Linked DNA regions of Homo sapiens: region 2 is linked to region 1. The links are contacts of gene promoters, found by promoter capture Hi-C in human tissues and cell types (Jung and others, 2019). All regions are on one chromosome and are shown on one strand. Each heading gives the region's core, a stretch centred on a gene start or on the middle of the fragment in contact. The rest is flanking DNA. Distances are from core to core; before and after follow the strand shown.

Region 1 (4,695 bases), core at 1-2,500:
ACACATCGAAGTGTAAAAACTTAGTTGATTCTGGGTTGCTTTCTGGCTGGAAGCTGACAGAACGGACTGAAGAGAAACGAAAGACAGTGTGCGAGGCAGACCTACTGCTTTTCTGCCTTGCGTTCTTTTCTTTCTTGCTAAAGGCAGTCAAATGGGGAAAAATACCCCGATGCCAGGTGAAGGTGCACAACACAGATCGACCCAGACCGAGCCAGAAAAACGTCTCCGCCGCTCCCCCGGCTGGAAAACCCAAAGTCCACGTCCCCTTCCACACGCTAATGAGGGGAGATTTTCGCCTATTTCATTGTTCTGCCTGGCTCTGACATGGACTTTTCATCTCTCTCCTCTCTCCCCACCTAGCCCCGTGCATTCCGATTCCACAGCCCCCCCAAAATCGGAGGCTCGCGGAGAATAAAGGAGCGTGGGGTGGGCGCGGAAAGAAATGGGAAGGGGCGCGGGGCGGAGAGCGAAGTGGAAAGGAGGTGCTCCGAAAGGTAATGTGGGGGGGCGGTGGAAGCTAAGCCGCATCACCTTCATTTATCGCAAATAAATAAAAAGCACAGTCACCGGTCCGCCTTCCCCGGCGTCCCTGCCCTCCCCGGGCAGCCGCCCACCCTCGCACACGCCCCCTCCCCTCCTGCGCCCCCGGCCCCTCTCCCCGCCCTGGAAGCAAGACCCTGCCGGCGCCGGGTCCCGGTCATCTTCCGGGCGAGGGAGGGGGTCGCGGCCCCCTCGGGCCCCGGGTGGGGGCTGGGGCAGGCGCCGGGGGCTGCGGGCGCGGGGCCGCGGGCAGAACAAAGCTGCGGGGGCCGCGGAGGGCGGCGGGCGCGGGGTCGGCGGGGCCGGGCGCCCCTTACCTTCGTACACGGGGGCCATCGGGGCCGGGGTGTCCGCGGTTCATGGCAACGGGGACGGGAAAGCGGCGCGCGAGCTCGGCCCCCCCAGCCTCAGTCGGAATCTGCCATCTTGAGCCTGTGTCTCCGCTCTCGGCGCAGCCGAGGCCGCCCGCGCCCGCATCACCGCCTCCCGTGGCCGGCGCCGGGGGAGGGGGCCGGGCGCGCCGCCGCCGCCGCCGCCGCCGCTGCCGCCCGGGCCCGGCGCGGGGGGCTCGGGGCTCGGGGCTCGGGGCGGCCGGGCGGGCGGAGCGGCCGAGGCCGAGGCGCCGAGCGGCCGCGGCCCCCGAGCGGATCCGCGGAGGGGCGGGAGCCGGGGGCAGCGCGCGGCCAGGGCCGGCGGGGCTCAGCTCAGCATGGCTGGGCGCGGGGGCTCCGCAAAAGTTGCTGGCGGAGGGGGGCGGCGGGCGGGGGCGGGGGCGGGGCGCGGGGCCGGGAGAGCCACAGGGAGTCCGCGCGCAATCGAGCGCCGATGGCACGGATGCGAGGCGGGGAAGGCCGAACCGAAGGGCAGAGCCGCGCCGGCGGCCCGAGGGGACCGCGCTGGGAGGGGCTGCCGCGCAGCGCGGGGGGACTGGGCGCAGGGCGGGCCCCGGGTAGTGGGTGAGAGGGCCGGCCTGGACCCGGCGGGCGCACGGCTCCGAGCCCAGCGCAGCCGAGCCGGTCTGCAGAGGGGCCCCCAGAACTTTGTGTGTGTGTGTGCACGCGCGCGCGTGTGTGCCCAGGTGCGAGGGTTCGCGCGTGTGCTGGCGGGGAGGGAACCGACCCGAAAGAGAGCCCCACGCTGGCAAAGTGGCTCGCCCATCTCACAGCCGGTTGGCGCTCGCGGAGGTAGGAGTGGAATGAATGAATGAAGGAGTGGGCGCGCGCCGTGCTCCGGAGGAGGGCGGGTGAGTGGAGGAGCTTCGGAAAGCCACACGAGGTCAGAGGCACCGAAGCCCTGCCGTGCACGCCGCGGAAATGCAGCCCCCGGGGTGGTCGCTGGGTTCCTGCCGGAGTCTGGCTTCCACGCCACCCTGATCTTCTCCTCCTCGCGTCTACACTGTCCCGAGGGCCGCCACTCCATCACTTGAATGGGAGCTCACAACTCTCTGGGTCCTCGCTTTTCTCAGCGCTCTCTCCTATCAGGGCTTCCGCTAAACACTCTCCAGACTCTCCCCAGCCGGGAGCCTCTCCAGGTTTGCTTCTCCAGCTGCCTCCCGGATGCTTGGATAGGATGCCCTGCCATCCCCTCCAACTTAGGAAGACTTGTTGAGTCTCCTCTTAGGCACTGTTTTTAAAACTGTGGGTCGTGACACAGTAATAGATCATAAAATAAATGCAGCGGAAGGCAACCAGCTTTCAAAAAGAACGAAATGGAATCCAATAGAAAATATTAGAGTCCATTGCCCTTAGTAAGGGCAACTATTGTTTCATAAACCTTTTGTTTCGATTATAGGTACTGGACAAGTGTACTGGACCATGATGTCAATTTTATTTCCGTCTGTGAATCGTGGGTTTAAAAAAGTTGAAAAGCTATCTGTGTAAAATAATGATCTCTAACACTGTATAACTTTCTTAAAAACAACCTCGTGATTTTCTCACTACTTCTTATCCTTTCCGGTCTCCATCCTCCGTTCCCATCCTTCAGTCCTTCCCAAAAAAGGCAAGCTCTTTCACACTTTTTTAGTGGTACATCACGACACCTTCCTCTGTGTGATCTTGTACTCTGCGGTCTTCCTTGCCCCCATAATCAATGCTACACTTCCTATCCCTTCTCTTAACCTAATGCCATTCACGTTTGCAGAATCCTAGACTACTGTTGCTAAAAGGACCTCAGAGGTCATCTGGGCCAGCCCTGCCCTTTTAGAGTTGAAGAAATGGAGTCCAGAGAAGTAAAATCTGTTGCCCAATGTCACACAGTATTGAAGCTTAGGAATAGGTCTCGTGGCTCCCACTCTAGTGTTTTTTGCTCCACACCGGTCATTTATCTCCTTCCCTTCTATCCTCCCTGCAATCTTTAACTTTAGTCTTGGCCCAGGTCATCCTAAATATTGCCATCTTCATAATACGTGGTTCTGGCCATGCCACGCTCCTGGCTAACATCCTCTAAGGACTCAACCTCTGCAGGTGGGGCTGAGTGCCTTGGCTTTTCATCAAGGCAGGCGAGTCCTGACTTAGCTTTCTAAGGACATGAGTTCAGCAAGTCACTGCTTCTCTAGCCAAACTGGTTTACTTGTAGCCCAGTGCCAGCTTCACCCATCTCTGTCACTGTGCCTTTGCCCAAGCGGTCACTTTCCCACCCACTTTCCCAGAGGGGTACCTTCTCCATCTTCTCTCTTTAAGCAGATTCTACCTGTGCCTGGCTCACCTCCTCCACAAAACAGCCCGAGATAGCGTGGGAGTAAGTCAGACCTAGGTTCAAATCCTAGCTCTTCCACTTAACTATGTGATCTTGGTCAAAATGCTTAACCTCTCTGAGCCTCAGTGTCTGTATTTTGATTATGAGAAGGAGAACAATAGTAATGTTCTCCTTTTGCATCTGTAAATCTCTATCATAGCCTTCACCACACAGGTATGTAACTCCCTGTTAATACATACCCTACATGCATGTCTCTCTGCCCCTTTCTAGTGCTGGCCATTAGAACTTGCTGCCATAATGGCAGTGTAGCTACTTATGTCTGTGGAGCACATGAAATGTGGCTAGTATGACTGAGGAACTGAATTTTTAATTTTAATAACCATGGGTGGTTAGTGGCTACCATTTTGGACAAGGTGTCTCTAGACTGTAAGCTCAGTAAGGACAGAAACCATGTTTTTCTTGTTTTGGATTGTATGTCCAATAACTGCATTGCCTAACGCATGGTGAGTACTGCACACATATTTGTTGAATGGATGATAGCTGCAATTTGTTGCATGCTCCCTTGTGTCCAGCACAACACTACAAACTCGATAAAAGGCATTTCATATAGTCCTCATCACAGCCTCTGAGGCTGGGTTAGATTAGAGAGAGAGTTTTATATAGAGGGCAGACACATAGTAGGGGTTCAATAAAAGTTATTATTATTCTAACTCCTCCCTCTGACCAGCCCCACTGACTTTTGTCTCATCTTTCCTTAGGCTCACAGAACATTTCCTGCCTGTTGCTCACACTCTGTTGTCCACAGCATACCCGCACCCTAGATGGCTGACTCTTGTCTTCTGTGTAGGTACCCTGTGTTCATAACTGGATTGGCAGCGTCTTGGAGCAAGGCCCTGCTTTATAGGACTGCCCCTGAATTCAGCACTGACCAGTGTTCAGTAACTGCCTCTAAGTCCATCCCAGCTGCTGTCTAGCAGTGAGTGATTCTAGGCAGTCTTAAAATGAATATCACTTGTGTCAACCGAAAACATTTTACAGGTAGTCTCCTCCCCATAAGAAGGGAACAATCTTGGGCAAGGAAATAGAGTCCCATGGAAGGGGAACAAGATGGAGCCATACAGACAGAGGTCCACCTTCTCTTCAGACCACCATGACTGAAGCTGTATCCATGAGATGCAAAACATGCATTCAATTGAGCTAGCGAAGTTCGTATGATATAACGGAAAAATATTCTTGAAATGAGCTTAGATTTTCCTTCATGAATTGGCAGACTGAGTATACTAATTGTCTCCTTTCCTTCCGGTGACTGCAGTCAAGTGGCAGCAAGGTATAAACCTAACAGTGAAATGTCACTGAAGGAGAGCATGGGAGCTGGGAGGAGAGAGGATCTGTGACAGAACCTGGGGAGTACCAGTATTTGAGACATGGGAAGAGGAAAAAGAGCTCCCCATGGACAAGAGG
Region 2 (4,695 bases), core at 647-3,146, 380 kb after region 1:
CTAGTGCGACACCAAATTTTCATAGGAAGTGACTTTCTATGAAAGCTTCGTTGGACTTTAAGCTCCTTAAAGACATGGGTAATATTTAATTCAGAATTTCCCATTGCCCACAGATCTACCTAAAGCTGATTACATAGTGGATTCTCACACAATATTTACTGATTGACACAAAGCAGGAATGCCAAGAACATCAGGGAGACATTCGCTTGGGCTACCATCTTGGAGCCCGTTTAAATATAAATTTTGCAAATATAAAGGGATAGAAAATGAATGTGAGGGGGAAAGTACAGAACTGATTATTTTTTTCTTTCAAGAATTTATTCTGAAATGTCCATACCTTTTTCAATGAAAAAGGACACAGTATTCCTGATTATTTAGGTTCAGGCAACTATAATCCTCTTGTACAGGAAAAAAGGTCTTCATTCATCACAAATGTATATATTATGCCCATTTACTTTTCCTTTCATGTAGTTCCTAAATGTCCCTATCTTAATCTGACATTTGGAATGTCAGTAAAAGAAGAAGACAAATGGATTATAAATGAAATAAATAGGATCTTTAAAAGATGAATGAATAAGCATCTGAAACTCTCCAATCCAGCAGACAGTTTTATTTCCCATTGCAAGTACAGAAGGGAAAGCTATATTTTCTAGGGCCTAATGAAACCTACAGAAGATTGAATATATACAGGAATAAAAGATCATACCTTGGGATAAAAGATAATAGCAAAAACATATATCTAGGACACTTAGTGATGAATCAACTACAATGGACAAGAGTCAACTAAGGCAAATCAAGTAGATCTAGTTTTCCTACTAACCTTTCTCATCTCATAAATAGTCTTCAGTGCCTGCATCTAAGGGGAATAAACACATTCCAAACCAAGCCAAGCCAAGAGAAAGCATTCATATTAAAGGCCTCTCTGCTGGAACAGAAACTAAGGCAACATTCTAAGGAGAACTTAATATCCTTAGTATGCTTTTTCATTCTTGATGAAAGACGAGTTACAGTAGGGGTCTGAACCACAAAAATCTTGACATAACTGGTAACAACATCCTACGTGGAAATTTATATATGACCCAGAGACCTCAAAGAATTTTAATACATGGCCAGAAGTGGTGGCCCACACCTGGAATCCTAGCACTCTGGGAGGCCAAGGAGGATGGATTGCTTGAGGCCAGCAGTTCAAGACCAGCCTGGGCGACAAGGCAAAACCCAACTCTACTAAAAATACAAAAGTTAGCTGGCCGTGGTGGGACACACTTTTAATTCCAGCTACTTGGGAGGCTGAGGCGTGAGAATCACTTGATCCCGGGAGGCGGAGGTTACAGTGTGAGCTGAGATCATCCCACTGCACTCCAGCCTGGGCGAGAGTGAGACTCCGTTTCAAAAAAAAAAAAAAGAAATCCAACACAATTACAAATCAGAAGTATCCATCAATAGCAAAATAGGTGACGCTGAGTTGCCAGGAAAGGTCAACAGCAAGCACTGGACCATTCTATTTCGAAACATACAAGTCAGGGCAATATGTAAAGTACATAAAGTGTAAGAAGGATTTTTAACCTATTCACATGTTGGATCCCTTCAAAAGATAATTTGTCATTATAGGTTCCTCAAAGTCCATTTTGTAATTCCTTTTTTTTGAGACGGGGTCTCGCTCTGTCACCAGGCTGGAGTGCAATGGCACCATCTCAGCTCACTGCAACCTCTGCCTCCTGGGTTCAAGCGATTCTTGTGCCTCAGCCTCCCGAGTAGCTGGGAATACAGGCACGCGCCACCACACCCAGCTAATTTTTGTATTTTTAGTAGAGACAGGGTTTCATCATGTTGGCCAGGAAGGTCTCGATCTCCTGACCTCGTGATCCGCCCACCTCGGCCTCCCAAAGTGCTGGCCATTTTGTAATTCTTAATTTCCACTAAAGGTCACGTGATCGATGACAGGCAAATGTAAGGAAAATATAGGCGGTCCTTACTTTGCATGGTAGTGCAGGACCATAAAAGTAACCATGCGTGAGGCCGAGGCGGGCGGATCACGAGGTCAGGAGATTGAGACCATCCTGGCTAACACAGTGAAACCCGTCTCTACTGAAAATACAAAAAACTAGCTGGGCGTGGTGGCAGGCACCTGTAGTCCCAGCTACTCAGGAGGCTGAGGCAGGAGAATGGCGTGAACCCAGGAGACGGAGCTTGCAGTGAGCCGAGATCACGCCAGTGCACTCCAGCCTGGGCGACAGAGCGAGACTCCGTCTCAAAAAGAAAAAAAAAAAAAAGTAATCACACAAGCTGAAATCATGCCAAGTGATTTTAATAATCAATGGGGGAAATCACAATTGTTCTGGTGAACTTTAAAAATGTTTGTCAAAGCATTAAGAACTCTCTTACTGTTGGTTATAATGTACAGAGAAATGAAAAAACAGTAAAACTAATACTTCTTTAGTACACTATAATTTAAAACATTATGCCATTTAGCATGCCTTCACTAAGTGCCTCTGGCTGCCTGTCTAGAGTTCCGCAAATGGCGGCAGTGGCAGCGTTCCCACTGTCAGTTACTTATTTTATTACTCCATTTATGCTCAATTGGATTTTACTTCCAGAGTTATCATTTTTTGTTTCTTTGTTGCTCTTTCATTTTTACTGGCCACTTCCCACTTTCGATTATCTATTTTGCTAATAGGTCATGTAAGTTTATTACTGAGAGGCAAGGAGGCAGCAAAACATGCTCTCCTGTCTGCGTGTAAACTGAAGAACAGACGCGTGCCTGTTATTTTTGCAGTGATTTCTGATCTGCATACTGAAGAGTCTGTACTTATGCATTCATAGGTAACACACCATGGTGACTGAAATTTGAATCCTGGGTGACTAGTGTTGTTATCTAATGGTAACTGAAATCAGTGCACACCAGAACCCTGCAAAGCAAGGACTGGCTCTACAGCATTCCCTTAAAAAACATTTTTTTTAAAAGTGTCCTGGACAGGCACAGTAGCTCATGTCTAAAAACCCAGCACTTTGGGAGGCTAAGGCGGGAGGACTTCTTGAAGCCAGAAGTTCAAGACCAGCCTGGGCATAATGAGACCCCCGTCACTACAAAAAAAAAAAAAGTTTTTAAAAATTAGCCAGGTATGGTGGCATGTACCTGTAGCCCCAGCTACTCAGGACGCTAAGGTGGGAAGACTGCTTGAGCCCGGGAGTTTGAGGCTGTAGTGAGCTGACTGCACCGCTGCACTCCAGCCTGGGAGACAAAGTAAGACTCTGTCTCTTAAAATTAAAAAAAAAAAAAAAAAAAAAGACAAAAAACAGTGTCCTGCAGGAGTCAAAGTTATTCACAAAAAGATTCCACAGTTCGTAAGAGAAACATAAGGGAGACACTGGGCTGAGATCGAATCACCTTCATTTACCAGCAATACTTCTCAGTGAATTTAACAAGTTAACAAGCACTTTCAATTTCCATGATGGGGATCAAGCATAAGTGATAAATACTGTACCCAACCTCGGGTCTTTCTCTCTCTCTCTCCCTTTTTTTTTCCCCACAAAACACTTCATGGGTTATTATTTTCCACCTTGGAAAATTGCCTTAGAAGCTAATTTTCAGACTCATCAGCTATGAAGAGTTTATTATAAATTTGTTTTTATAATTATAAGTGTTACAACTTTATGATTTAAATTTACAAAATTAAAACATTTTTAATGTTTTGCAATTTTACAATTGGTACAAAGTACCAATAAACCAAGTGTATAGTAAAACCACCCCTTTATCAACACAGGAGACTAAAATGGTGACAGCATTACCAAGCATTTACTGACTACTAACAAAGCACGTTAATGAATACATATGAACCAAAGAAGTCAATAACTGATCATACACTAAAACTTTCTAAAACTATCTTTTTAACCTCAAAAGAAACAAACAAATTGTTTGTCTCCAATTACCCTTATTACAACATAATTAACAAGTATTTGTAAGGCACTTTCTAGGCTGAAGTCTAATGACTGAGTCAAATCTTCTTATGTAGATCAAAATACAAGACCTACATAAGAAGCAAGATATAACATATCTCTAAGCCAGCCATATGATTTTCTTCTAGATAAGATTACCTGGAAGCCAGGGCTACCTTTACCCACCAGGCATAGCTTCTATCCTAGGGTAAGAATTCAAAGGTATAATCTAGCACCACAAGCACTCTGATTTCAAAAATTCCAACCCTGACTGCCAGGTTTATTTAAGTGATATTTGCCAAATCCCTTTTGCACAGCTTGACTCCATTCCTGGCTAGGGTCATCCTTTTGTCACCAGTGTATCAGAATACGGAGTGGGCAATTTAAGAAGACCTGTTGCCTAATCCCATGTGGACATCTTGTTTTGCTCTAGTTAAGAAAACAAAATTAGGAGACAGTGGGAACTGGTCAAAGCAGACTAACAGGCAACAGGAAAAAAGAATCGCAAGGAAGGAGATAAAACACCATCGATAAATGGCCACTGGTGTGGGGCAATCTGGTGCACAAACAGTCCAGCAGCCCACATGGCACAGAAGATAACTAAGGTCCGTGATACTTAGTCAACAAAATTATATGCCAACTATTTTTAGAAGGATTTTGACAGACATGCTCTTCTTGAAAGAATACTACACTATTTAAAGCAGTTTAATCTCCTGAGTAACTTTTCTGAGGACAGTTACATTTCACAAGTAGAACTATCAG

The links. Contacts are between HindIII fragments. The study calls those that stand out against the background at their distance.
Region 2: a contact is called between a fragment that was not itself captured here and the fragment with the promoter of HIPK2 in region 1, in 1 of the 25 tissues and cell types used here (IMR-90 fibroblasts).

What each region holds. Positions count from the first base shown.
Region 1 is chr7:139,776,748-139,781,442 of GRCh38, forward strand. HIPK2 (homeodomain interacting protein kinase 2) reads right to left here and starts at 1,251. Exons shown (of 15, transcript NM_022740.5): 1 at 858-1,251. The coding sequence starts at 876. It also overlaps a transcript of TBXAS1 not described here. RefSeq lists silencers at 847-936, 1,367-1,596. The HindIII fragment of the contact is 11,506 bases long and covers 1-4,553 here.
Region 2 is chr7:140,151,236-140,155,930 of GRCh38, forward strand. The region is part of intron 1 of KDM7A (lysine demethylase 7A); the gene reads right to left. Among named protein-coding and RNA genes, the nearest start is that of KDM7A, 23 kb to the right of the region's middle. The HindIII fragment of the contact is 5,386 bases long and covers 1-4,589 here.